3 separate regions of the Homo sapiens genome follow, and regions 2 and 3 are each linked to region 1. Evidence: promoter capture Hi-C in 16 types of primary human blood cells and fetal thymus (Javierre and others, 2016). All regions are on one chromosome and are shown on one strand. Each heading gives the region's core, a stretch centred on a gene start or on the middle of the fragment in contact. The rest is flanking DNA. Distances are from core to core; before and after follow the strand shown. Region 1 holds the start of PES1 (pescadillo ribosomal biogenesis factor 1). Region 2 holds the start of MORC2-AS1 (MORC2 antisense RNA 1). Region 3 holds the start of TBC1D10A (TBC1 domain family member 10A).

Region 1 (3,737 bases), core at 722-3,221:
CTGCTTGGTGAGAATCTATTCTGCACAGCTTAGCAGCTGAGTGATCTTCAGCGATCACTTACTTTCCTGAGACTTAGTTTCCTCCCTTGTGAAATGTGGTACCTATATGACGGCTATTTTGAGCTGAAATTACAATTGCTTCCCTGAACATCCCCACCTGTGTCTTCCAGTGACCCCTCAACATTAATGTGAGCAAAACAAGGCTCAACTTTCTGCAAACATGGTTCTATCTGTGCAGGACGAGCTAGGTGATTTGTGAGGGACAGGGTGAGATGACTGCCCAGGCCACATGCTCACGACACCAGCCCTGTTCCTGTGTTGCCCTCATGAGCCAGCCACTGCCACCCTCTCCAGTCCATCCCTTTCCTTCTTCTTCTTTTTTTTTTTGAGATGGAGCCTCGCTCTGTCGTCTAGGCTTGAGTGCAGAGTGCAGTGGCACAATCTTGGCTCACTGCAACATCTACCTCCTGGGTTCAATAAATTCTCCTGCCTCAGCCTCCCAACTAGCTGGGGTTACAGGTGCCTGCCACCACACCCGGCTAATTTTTGTATTTTTGGTAGAGATGGGTTTTCGCCATGTTGGCCAGGCTGGTCTCAAACTCCTGATCTCAGGTGATCCGCCTGCCTCAGCCTCTCAAAGTGCTGGGATTACAGGTGTGAGCGACCGTGCCCGGCTTCATCTCATTTTTAACTGTGGAATTGCTGGGTTTTAAATTTTAGCTTTAAATTAGATAGTGCAAGTCACATAGTTCAAAACAAGTATTCACCAGTGCTTAACGTCTGTCTCTGTGTAAGTTCTAAGACCAAGTCCTTGGGCCAGGTCACATTCACAAGAGCCTCAAATTTAAACTTTTGAGATCATCTTCGAACGAAATTTGGAATTTGGAAAAAGGGAGAAACGTTTAAAAAAAAAAAAACCTCTTAAAATTGCATCTACTTCCAGACTGCACCATCTCAAGGTGATGTGACTATTTGTATAAATCTTGGAATTATTATTTGAGGAACACTTACAGAATTTATGTGTACAAATTAAAAGCTCGAATATGTTGAATGTACATTTAATTTTATTTATTTATTTATTTTTGAGATGGAGTCTCACTCTGTCGCCCAGGCTGGAGTGCAGTGGCAAGATCTCGGCTCACTGCAACCTCTGCCTCCCAGGTTCAAGCGATTCTCCTGCGTCAGCCTCCCGAGTAGCTGGGATTACAGGCGTGTGCCACCATGGCCAGCTAATTTTTGTATTTTTAGCAGAGACGGGGTTTCACTATATTGGTCACACTGGTCTCGAACTCCTGACCTCAGATGATCCGCCTGTCTTGGCCTCCCAAAGTGCTGGGATTACAGGCGTGCGCCACCGCTCCCAGCCTTGAATGTACATTTTAAATATACCACGAGTCCACCACTAAGGCTCAGAAAATATAAGTGGCCTCTAGGATCTCTATACCTCCGCGAGGAAAAATGTCTTCCTTTTTTCTATTTTAGCCGCATAACCGCGAATGAACCAAAGAGAACCCGAAGCCGGTGGGAACTCAGCGCAGTCTCACCCTGCCCCTCGGGAACCGCTTCTCAGCAGCGGCAGCCGAAGTCTGACGACGCTTAGCAACCGTTACCTTGACAACGCAATCCTATCGCGCACCATGGAGTGCGGCGCCCCTCTGCATCCCAGAAGGCACCGCGCTGTCCCTAAGCCTTCCGCCCCTCTCCGTCCCAACATGCAACGAGGCTCACAGTCAATGAATCGTCATCAGGGTGATTACAGAAAAGCCTGTATATCCACGTTTGTTTTAACACTTAAAGTGTTTGTAACCATTGTGAGCGGGAAAGATCTGGAAAGAGTGTTCTCAGTGATTTTTTTCAGACTATAGTTTTAAATCTTGAGGAGGAAATCCCCATCTTTCCCTGGACTTGTACAGGCATCTCATTGGGCAGCCCGCACAAACAGACAGCGTGGGGTGGGGAGGGTCCTCGGGGTCCTTGGCAGGGCACGTGCGGGAGGAAGTGGAGCTCCCTGTACGCGCGGCCCTAGTCGGCTCCTCAACGTGGAGCGATGGGAGGCCTTGAGAAGAAGAAGGTGATTGGGAAAGACGGTGGGGATTCCCGAGGGGTGGGGTGCGGGGGCGGCAGAGCATGGGGTCGACTCTTTTCCCGGGCTCCGTCTCGTGGAGACTGGAAAGACGGGATCGACGTGACCGTAATCAGCTGCGAGAAGGGGTCCGAGAATGGACAAGGATGGCAGTATTCGTTTAGTGAAATCCGAGAACGAACTCCAGAGTTCTTTCTGTGGAGAGGGCTGTGAAAGAGAGTTGAACTTACCAAGCGTAGCTTCATTCCAAAAGCAGGCCGAGCCGTGGGACCACTATTTACCGAAAGGGTGATAAACATTACGTAGAGCTCACCGTTACTGCACCGTTACATTAGTTGGTTAGTGTTGTCTTGGAAGTTCTCTTCGAGGCATAACATTTCGGCTGAAATGGGAAAGATCAGAACGTCTTGGATGGGTTCTGGGGCATGGGAGTGCTTAGCGAGCAGGCCTGACAAGGGAAACCAAGTGCCAAGATCAGTAGGCAGGGAAGGCTTGCTGTGTGTAAGGAGTTGGAAGGACATTAGGATGACTCGCATGTAAACCAAGAAAAGAATGGCATCTGATAAGATTGGGGTTGGACACGTACTGTATCGTGCAAGGCCTGTAAGCTTGGATTTTATTCTAAGTGCAGTAGGAATAGTGTAGAGCTTGGATTTTATTCTACGTGCAGTAGGAAAAAAAGGAGGAGTAACACGATTAGAGTTTTTCAGGGAGTTCTTGTGGCTGTATGGAGAATCGGCCCAGTGACATGAAAAGACTGGGAAGGGAATGGGAATGAGGAATATATAGTTGGCTTAAGTGTTTCTTTCAGAGTGAAAGTTTCTATTGCCAGTGTTCTTAACCCAACACACTACATTGAGTATCCAGTGCTAGCCATCGGAACTGCAAAGATACAAGATGGAAAACCTGCCCTTGAGTTGCAGATGTAGATATGTAACAAAATCGTTACAGTTTTTAAAAGCTGGGTTTCAGAGCCAGAATCAACAAAGATGAGTCTTTGTTGTGGGAAGGATTGTCTTGTGTGTAGTAGGATATTTGGCAACATCCCTGATCCTTTACCTACTGGATACCAGTAGCACCCAGCAACCAAAAATGTCTCCAAACATTGCTGAACTCTCCTCCCCCCAGCACATACCCAGGGAGTACCCCATTGAGAACTATTTATTCCCTTAACATTTATAAGGATAAGCATGGTGACAGAGATAAGTGTGGCATAAGGTAATGGAAAACGCTATAAATGAAAACTCAACTTCTTAAGGCAGTCTGAAACTCATCTTTATACCTCCAAGACTTAGCATGGGCCTAATACCTAATAGACAATTAATGTCTAAAGGAAAGAATGAATGAAGGGTATGTTTCATGACTATGATGTTATTAGTAAACGTACCTGTGGGAGACTAACAGGTTTGTCTCTTTAGAGCTGAACCTAGCCAAAGAGGCCCCTGCTGTCTTAGTCCAGAGGAAGATCTTGTTTGGAAACGACATGCTTGTTAGCTTGCAGGGTATTTGTTACAGTGCACTGATTGTCTCTATCGAGGGATACAGAAGTGTGAGGGATACAGAAATGTGGGTGTGAGGCAGCATCTTAGCACCACAGGCATCCAGATGGTTATACAAGACAATAGGCTTCTTAGGGGCAGGTAGAGACCAGGCT
Region 2 (3,737 bases), core at 770-3,269, 330 kb before region 1:
CGTCTAAAAGGCTGGACCATGAAAAGCAAGGCTCCCTTCTCCCACCCAATCCCTGAATTCTCCCTGGAGAGTATCCCTCCTAAGTGCACGCACTTCCACTCTGTTCCATTTCTGCCTGTTAAAACTACTTAGTGCAGCTTAGTGTAGTGGAACCTGCTTCAGAATAACCCATATGGGTCTTCTTTATTCTCATGAACCACAGAGCATTTCATGTGTTGGATATATTGTCTCCTACTTACGGACATTTGGGGTTGTTTCTGTTTTTGTTTGTTTTGTGACGGACTCTTGCTCTGTCACCCAGGCTGGAGTGCAGTGGCACAGTCTCGGCTCATTGCAACCTTCACCTCCTGGGTTCCAGCGATTCTCCCCTCTCAGCCTCCCAAGTAGCTGGGACTACAGGTGCGTGCCACCATGCCCAGCTAATTTTTGTATTTTTTGGTAAAGACAGGGTTTCACCATGTTGGCCAGGCTGGTCTCAAACTCCTGATCTCAAGTGATTTGCCCGCCTTGGCTGGGATTACAGGCATGAGCCACTGCACCCGGCCAGTCACCATTTTCATCCGGTAACTTGCAATGCACCAGGCCTTACCAGGGCCACTGTTGGGTTCAGCGGACATTTCCTTCTTCAAGCTGGCAAGGCCTCAGACAAGTCACTGCCCATTTTGGCTCCTGTTCCTCCTCTAAAATAACGGAGTTGGGTGATGGCAGAGGCTTTCCAGCTTATTCAGCCTCAGGAGTACCTAAAATTTATCCAGAAGCCCATATGGAAAGCCAGGAGTCCTGGAGCTGCTCTGGTTGAAGCTAGGATGGGGGCCCAGAGCTCCCTGCTGTTCTTGACCCCCAAATCTTTGCTTCCAAGATTCACTGGCCCCTACCTGCTACCTGTAGGCCTTCACCTGCTTACTTGTGTCCGATGTAGGGATTATGGGCTTACTCAGCAGCCATCCTCATGGCCTAAACATTTGGCCAATTTCAGTGTCCCCGAAGGGTGAAGGAGGTCTGGGCTTCCATGGGGCCTGAACTGCAGGTACCTTCAGCACTTCCTGGGGTTCTGGACATGTCAACAGCTGCCCACCAAGGCCTGGAAGATAAGGAGGGCTCACACCACTAGTGCAAACTTGGATCAATGAGAAGGGAAGGATGCGACAGACGTATCCCTCCTCTTTTCTTGTCCCCTCTGGATTCTGTTGAGATGCTTCCAGGGATTCTCCGAGGCCCCTTCCTGCTCCAGTAACTGCAGGTTACTGGGGAAGCTGTGGCCAGCTCTAATCCCCTACTTTTTTTTTTTTTTTTTTTTGAGACAGTCTCGCTCTGTAGCCCAGGCTGGAGTGCAGTGGCGCCATCTTGCCTCATTGCAACCTCTGCCTCCAGGGTTCAAGCGATTCTCCTGCCTCAGCCTCTCTAGTAGCTGGAATTACAGGCGCGCGCCACCACGCCCGGCTAATTTTCGTATTTTTAGTAGAGATGGGGTTTCGCCATGTTGGCCAGGCTGGTCTAGAACTCCCAGTCTCGAGAGATCCATCTGCCTCAGCCTCCCAAAGGGCTGGGATTACAGACGTGAGCCACAGCGCCCGGCCTAATCCCCTACTTTGATTTACTGTCCCTCCCCACATCATTTCTTCCCTTATTGAAAGCTCTGGGTCCTCCCCAATGCCCCACCATGTAAACCAATCTGTCCTGCTGGGTTTGGGGCACCGCGGTGGGCAGGGGAGAACCCGTTTGTCAGAAGGTTCAGAGTTTCTGAGTTCCTCATGCTTAATCATCAGCGGCCACAGCACAACAGTGGCCGAGGGTGGGTTGTAAATTCTCACCTGGCCTAGAGGACGCAGCCACGACCCCAGCGCTTGGCCATCTCTGTAGAGGATTCGCGGGTGGACCATGCTTAGTCTAACAGGGTATGGTTATTAACGCCCGTTATGAACGGTTCATAACCAGCCAACGGTTATGAACTGTGGAGGGCTTCCGCAATCCCGCCACACGCTCGAGGCGGAAGCGACAAGACGCCTGCGTGGTTTTGCTGGCGCGCCGCACGTGCCCGTACCGTGACCTGCGCATGCGCTTTGGAAGCCTCGCGAGCTTCCTGCGGCACTCAGGGTTTGGTGCAGGTGCCTGTGGCCTTTGGGGGTTTCCTCGCGTCTTTTAGGTAGATGCTTCCAGGGATTCTCCGAGGCCTCTTCCTACTCCAGTAACTGCAGGTTTCTGGGGAAGCCGTGGCCAGCTCTAATCCCCTACTTTTTTTTTTTTTTTTTTTTTGAGACAGTTTCGCTCTGTCGCCCAGGCTGGAGTGCAGTGGCGCCATCTCGCCTCACTGCAACCTCCGCCTCCAGGGTTCAAGCGATTCTCCTGCCTCAGCGTCTCTAGTAGCTCCTTACAGGGAGAGCAATGGCCCACTCACACCCGAAACAGAGAAGCGAGGATTTTTTTTTTTTCCTGCAAGCTGCTGCGCATTAATTAAGTCAAAGTGCAGAAGAAATCTTTTCTACCCCGGCTTTCCAACTTTCCGGGGGTCATTAGGGAAAAACATTCGTTGAACAGATGTCCTTAGGGTCGGCGCTTTTATCTCTGAAAGGAAGAACACTTGGAAAGGAAGCTGCGTGTTTTTCCTCTTGCCCGGAAGAGCCAGCCTGTATGTCTCCCTTTTGACCCGAGGCCAAGCGCCTGAAGCCTCTTGGACTTAGTTAACATTAGTCCGTTTTCTATGCGTTTGTCCTTGGCTTGGTTTATGGTGTTTGTTGAAAGGTAAATGTTTTAAAGTTTTGGGGATTCCTATCATGCTTAGGGAAATCAATCCCCTTCTCTCTTCTCCCCTTCCCCCGATATTCTCTTACATTTTGTTGCAATGTTTATTATTTATTTTTTACTAGACAACCTATAGTCCTTATGGAATATATTTTAGTATAAGCTGTAAGGCAAGAGTCAAGCGTCTCCCGCCCCCAGGTGGAAATTAACTTATTCCAGCCCCACTTATTAAATGAGCCTCTTACTAAATGAGCCAACAGGTGTGGACCTGTTGAGTTTGAGATCCCGCTTAGACGCCAGTGGAGACATCTGTGGTCAGTTGCACAAGTGAGTCTGATGTGAGGGGTGAGGTTCTGGCTGAAACTATAATTTTGGGCGTCATCAGCATCTAAATAGATCAGTCTCCCTCACTTGTTAAAAAATGCTTTTCCAGTCTTAGAATGTATTCTCTCACATGAAATATTTAATCGCATTATCCAGTTCGTTCCCATCCCTGCCTAAAAGAAAGTGTTCCATTGGGATTTAAATTATAATTGCATTAAATTTAAATGGAAGTTTTGGGAGCATTGACATTTTTGTGATATTAATCCTCCCCCAGAGGATAAAAAATGGCTTTCCATTTACTCAAGACTTCTTTTAGGTCCTCCAATAAGATTTTATAAATTCTTTATACGGGTTCTATAACTTTCTGGTTAAAATTATTCCTAAGTGTTTTATGGTTTTTGTCTATTGTGATGGAATACTTTTTTCCATCTGTATTACTCATTGATTATTAATATGTAGAAAAGCTAATGATTTAATATAATTCACTTTCTGTCTTAGGAATTCTGGTAGTTTTAATAAGCCTGTTTTTTATAGATACAAATTTGCCAGTATACCAATTTATTTTGTCAGTTTGCTTTAGTTAGAACCTCTGAAACAATGTTGAATAATGATCCCGGGCTGTTTCTGATATGCGTGGAAATCCGCATGTGAGAGTTGAGCGGTGAGAGTTTCGG
Region 3 (3,737 bases), core at 842-3,341, 260 kb after region 1:
GAGTAAGAACATGTTTGGGATATAACCCTAGGGATAGAATCATGAAGTCAAAGGGTCGTGGATACTTTTCTTTGCTGTACTTGAGGCTTCACATCTGCCCCAGGTATGTCTGGCTCCTCCCCCTCCCTTTCCTGGGATAGGCCCATACCACCATGAAAGACCCATACCGCCCCTCCTGGGAGCTGGGACCAGGAGCCCACCACTGTCTGGAGTCACTGAAGAGAAGGAACATCCTCCTAGACTGAGGGTTTAAGACCAAAATAGCCTGTGCCCACTCCCATGTCTGTTCTTGCCTTGTTTATGGAAAGCCAGAAGCTCATGGAATGTGAGGATTGTACAATGACGCCATCAAGAATGTCCAGGCCACATGGCATCAAGGTGAAATCACTCAAGGCTCAAGACCCCCTCTTGGGGCTTGCCTTGGGGCCCTGAATAGTCTGTCCCAGGCCCTGCAGCCAGGTCTGAGTCTTCCAGTCCCTTCCCCTCTCTAGGCCTGTCTCTCCCACAGGTCTGCAGGGAGTGTCAGATGACAATATACTGTGACTTGTAAACCATAAAGTACTAGACATAAGCGAGGAGCTATCATTATATTATAGATCCAAGAGTTGACAATCTCTAGGGTCAGAAATCAGCTGCTTGGGGCTAAGCCCATATAGATAAAATCGGCCCATCCCTCCAAATATAGGCAGTTGGTAAGAGCTAAGTTCGAATCCTGGCTATATTCACAGCTAATTCTGGGACCTTAGGCAACTGACTTTACCTCAGTCTCCTTAACTGTAAAATGGGACTAATAATGGTGTATACCTCATTGCTAAGAGATTACAAGACATGTTGCAACCAATTTGGAAAACAGTTTGCCAGTTCCTCGAAAGGTTAAACAGTTGCCATATGACCCAGCAATTCCACTCTTCCTTATCTATCCAAGAGAAATGTAAACATAAGGCCCCCACACAAAAGCTTGTACCTGAATGGTCAGAGCAGCATTATTCATAATGGCTAAAAACTAGAAACACGCGAATGACCATCACTGATGAATGGAAAAACAAAATCTGGTATAGTCCCAGCTCCCAGGAGGGGCAGTATAGGTCTTTCATGGCGGTGTGGGCCTATCCCAGGAAAGGGAGGGGTGGAGTCAGACATACCTGGGGCAGATGTGAATCCAGAAGCACTGATACATGCTACAATGTGGATGAAACTTGAAAATGTTCAAGAGAAAGAATCCAGACATAAAAGGCCATATATTGTATAATTCCATTTATATGAAATATCCAGAAAAGGGACATCTATAGAAACAGGAAGCAGATTAGTGGTTGCCAGGGACTGGGGGAGCCAGGATGCGGAGTGACTGCTAATTGGTAGGAGTTTCTTTTTGGGGTGATGAAAATGTTCTAAAATTAGAATGTTGTGATGGCTGCACAACTCTGTAAATATGCTAAAAATCATTGTACACTTTAAACGTGAATTTATGGTATGTTTATGTTCCATAAAACTGCTGGGGAAAAGACTACAGGAGAAAGTAGGTAGAGCTTCGGGCGTGCGTGGCTCAGTAAACGCTGGTGATTATTAATAATTAGGTCTCACGAGGTAATTTAAAGCCCCAGAAGCAGTGAGTGCAATGGGACTGCCAGACTTCTGGCTCAGGCTGGGCCTTTAAGCCGCTCTGCGTCCCTGAACTCACTTGGGCCTCCTCAGAGTTCCTCATAAATGAATGGGGCAAACAATCCCTACCACGTCCTTGGGGTCTCGCAGGGAGCGGGGCTCAGGAGGCAGATGAGGAATCCATGGAGGAAGCCCTGGGCCTCCGGCTCGCGCTCTGCAGTAGGTGACAGGCCCCGCTTGGAGCCAACCCGGAAAGGCCCGAGCTCGTCCAGGTGAGTTCTTGTGATTGGCAGCCCGGAGGAGGGCGGGGAGGGCTGCGGTGACGGCTGCCCCGCCCCCTCACTTCGGGCTTGTTGGCGCCCGCCGGGGGAGGGTGGGCGGGGCCCGGGGTCCGCGGCGCCCATTGGGCGTGGGGGGAGAGCTCCGGGGTGGGCCTGGAGCCCCGCCCCCCGGCCTTGCGGCGGCCAATAGGCGCCGCGCGTGGGCGGGGCGTCGGCGGCAGCAGGGCGGCTGAGGTGGCCGCTGGAGCTCAGGCGGCGGGCGCGGCTGGGATGGCGAAGAGCAACGGAGAGAATGGGCCGCGCGCGCCCGCGGCCGGGGAAAGCCTGTCGGGAACCCGGGAGAGCCTGGCCCAGGGCCCCGACGCCGCAACCACCGACGAACTCAGCTCTCTCGGGTCTGACTCGGAGGCCAACGGCTTCGCCGAGCGCCGCATCGACAAGTTCGGCTTCATCGTGGGCTCGCAGGGCGCCGAGGGCGCGTGAGTAGCGCCGGGGGTCGGGACTGAGCGCGCCACCCACGCGAGGGGCCTCGACACGGACGGAGGCGCCCTCGGGACTTGCCGACACGTCCCCCTCCCAGGCAGGGACCACTAATCCCCGTTCCCTCCCCTGCCCCACCCCCACCACCCCTGCCTTCCTAGACCCGCCCCCTTCGCAGTCCTACTTCCGACCCAGGGGGCGGACGGGCCCACACCTCCACCCGCCACCTCCACCCTCCGGACAGACTGACCCGCTCCCAGGAAGGACCGACTGTGCCCTCCTTCCAGCCGTGGAACAGAATGACAGACTGCCCCAAACCCACCCCTGCCGCCAAGACCTTAGGGATGATTGTTTCTGCCACCCCGACAGGCTCCCAGATGGCTGGCGCCCCCCTCCATAGACACTCATTCTCCATCTTTCCCCCTCCCACAAACCCACAGACGCCCTTGTCTCCCCGCCTCACTGCCCCCACACCAGGAGACCTCAGACCGACTTCAGGACTGACTGCCCCGCCCCCACCCCTTCCCAGGACAGACTGACCCTTTCCTCGAGGCATACAGACCTCTGGATGGACAGACATTGGTCACCTCCCTCCCCTCAGCTCCATCCTGGGACAGACAGTCCCTTCTCCTCATGGAAGGGTCGGAGAAGGGCCCCCTATCCGCTCATACACAGCTTCCTCCACTGGCACTGGCAACAGGTGGGCAGGTACTCCCCCTTCCCAGCACGTACAGGGCGACAGGGAGCCCCACCACTAGGACAGACCATCAGCTCCAGCAGCCACAGGAGCCAGTAGATGGGCTCTGTGTATGTCCTGTGTATGTATGCGCCTCCTCCCAAGGGCAGATCTTGGGCGTGGGACGGGGGCAGGCAGGGAGACAGCAGGGTCCCTGCTCATATTAGCACCCCCCGATGTCCTATCCCGAGAGCACCCAGACACCCAGCTAGCAGACAGAGAAATGTGGGGCAGTGGAACAGCACCTTGCCTCCAAGCTGGGCCCCATGTTGCCCCACAGAATCCCCCGAGCCCAGGCCTCAGAGATCATGTGTACAGGCTGGCGGTCCCCTTAGGAAAGATGGACTCCATACCCCACTCCCATCCCAGCTGTCCTGTCACGTGAGACCAGTGTTGTGCACAGAACTGACAAGACTCCCTCCTGATGTGTGCTTTCCATCCCAATCACCAGTAGGAGCTCCTGGGGCCCTGCCATGACCCTACTCCAGAGAATATCCTTTCTCCCTTTCTCTGACCAATTGAGATTGTCCAAGGTCACCCCAGACTCTCTCATGACTTATGGAAGCGCTTTAACTGTCTAAGAACCCCTGTCACTTCCGGGATTTTCCCCAGCCCTAAAGCCTCTTATTCACCAGGCCTCC

Evidence for each region. Contacts are between HindIII fragments. The CHiCAGO score rates a contact against its expected background, and 5 or more counts as called.
Region 2: the fragment with the promoter of MORC2-AS1 here is called in contact with the fragment with the promoter of PES1 in region 1 in 1 of 17 cell types (endothelial precursors); the score reaches 6.4 in endothelial precursors.
Region 3: a contact is called between the fragment with the promoter of TBC1D10A here and the fragment with the promoter of PES1 in region 1, in 1 of 17 cell types (naive CD8 T cells). The highest score is 6.0, in naive CD8 T cells.

Annotation. Positions count from the first base shown.
Region 1 is chr22:30,590,144-30,593,880 of GRCh38, reverse strand. It overlaps PES1 (pescadillo ribosomal biogenesis factor 1), which reads left to right and starts at 1,971. Exons shown (of 15, transcript NM_014303.4): 1 at 1,971-2,071. The coding sequence starts at 2,048. RefSeq lists enhancers at 1,349-1,428, 1,649-1,948, 1,428-2,143. The HindIII fragment of the contact is 19,848 bases long and covers 1-2,693 here.
Region 2 is chr22:30,920,590-30,924,326 of GRCh38, reverse strand. It overlaps MORC2-AS1 (MORC2 antisense RNA 1), which reads right to left and starts at 2,019. Exons shown (of 2, transcript NR_026920.1): 1 at 1,812-2,019. LOC107985544 (a long non-coding RNA gene) reads left to right here and starts at 2,548. Exons shown (of 3, transcript NR_146603.1): 1 at 2,548-2,739. The HindIII fragment of the contact is 12,308 bases long and covers 1-3,737 here.
Region 3 is chr22:30,325,295-30,329,031 of GRCh38, reverse strand. It overlaps TBC1D10A (TBC1 domain family member 10A), which reads left to right and starts at 2,091. Exons shown (of 9, transcript NM_031937.3): 1 at 2,091-2,359. The coding sequence starts at 2,151. RefSeq lists silencers at 1,839-2,168, 2,469-2,518 and an enhancer at 2,735-3,684. The HindIII fragment of the contact is 3,707 bases long and covers 960-3,737 here.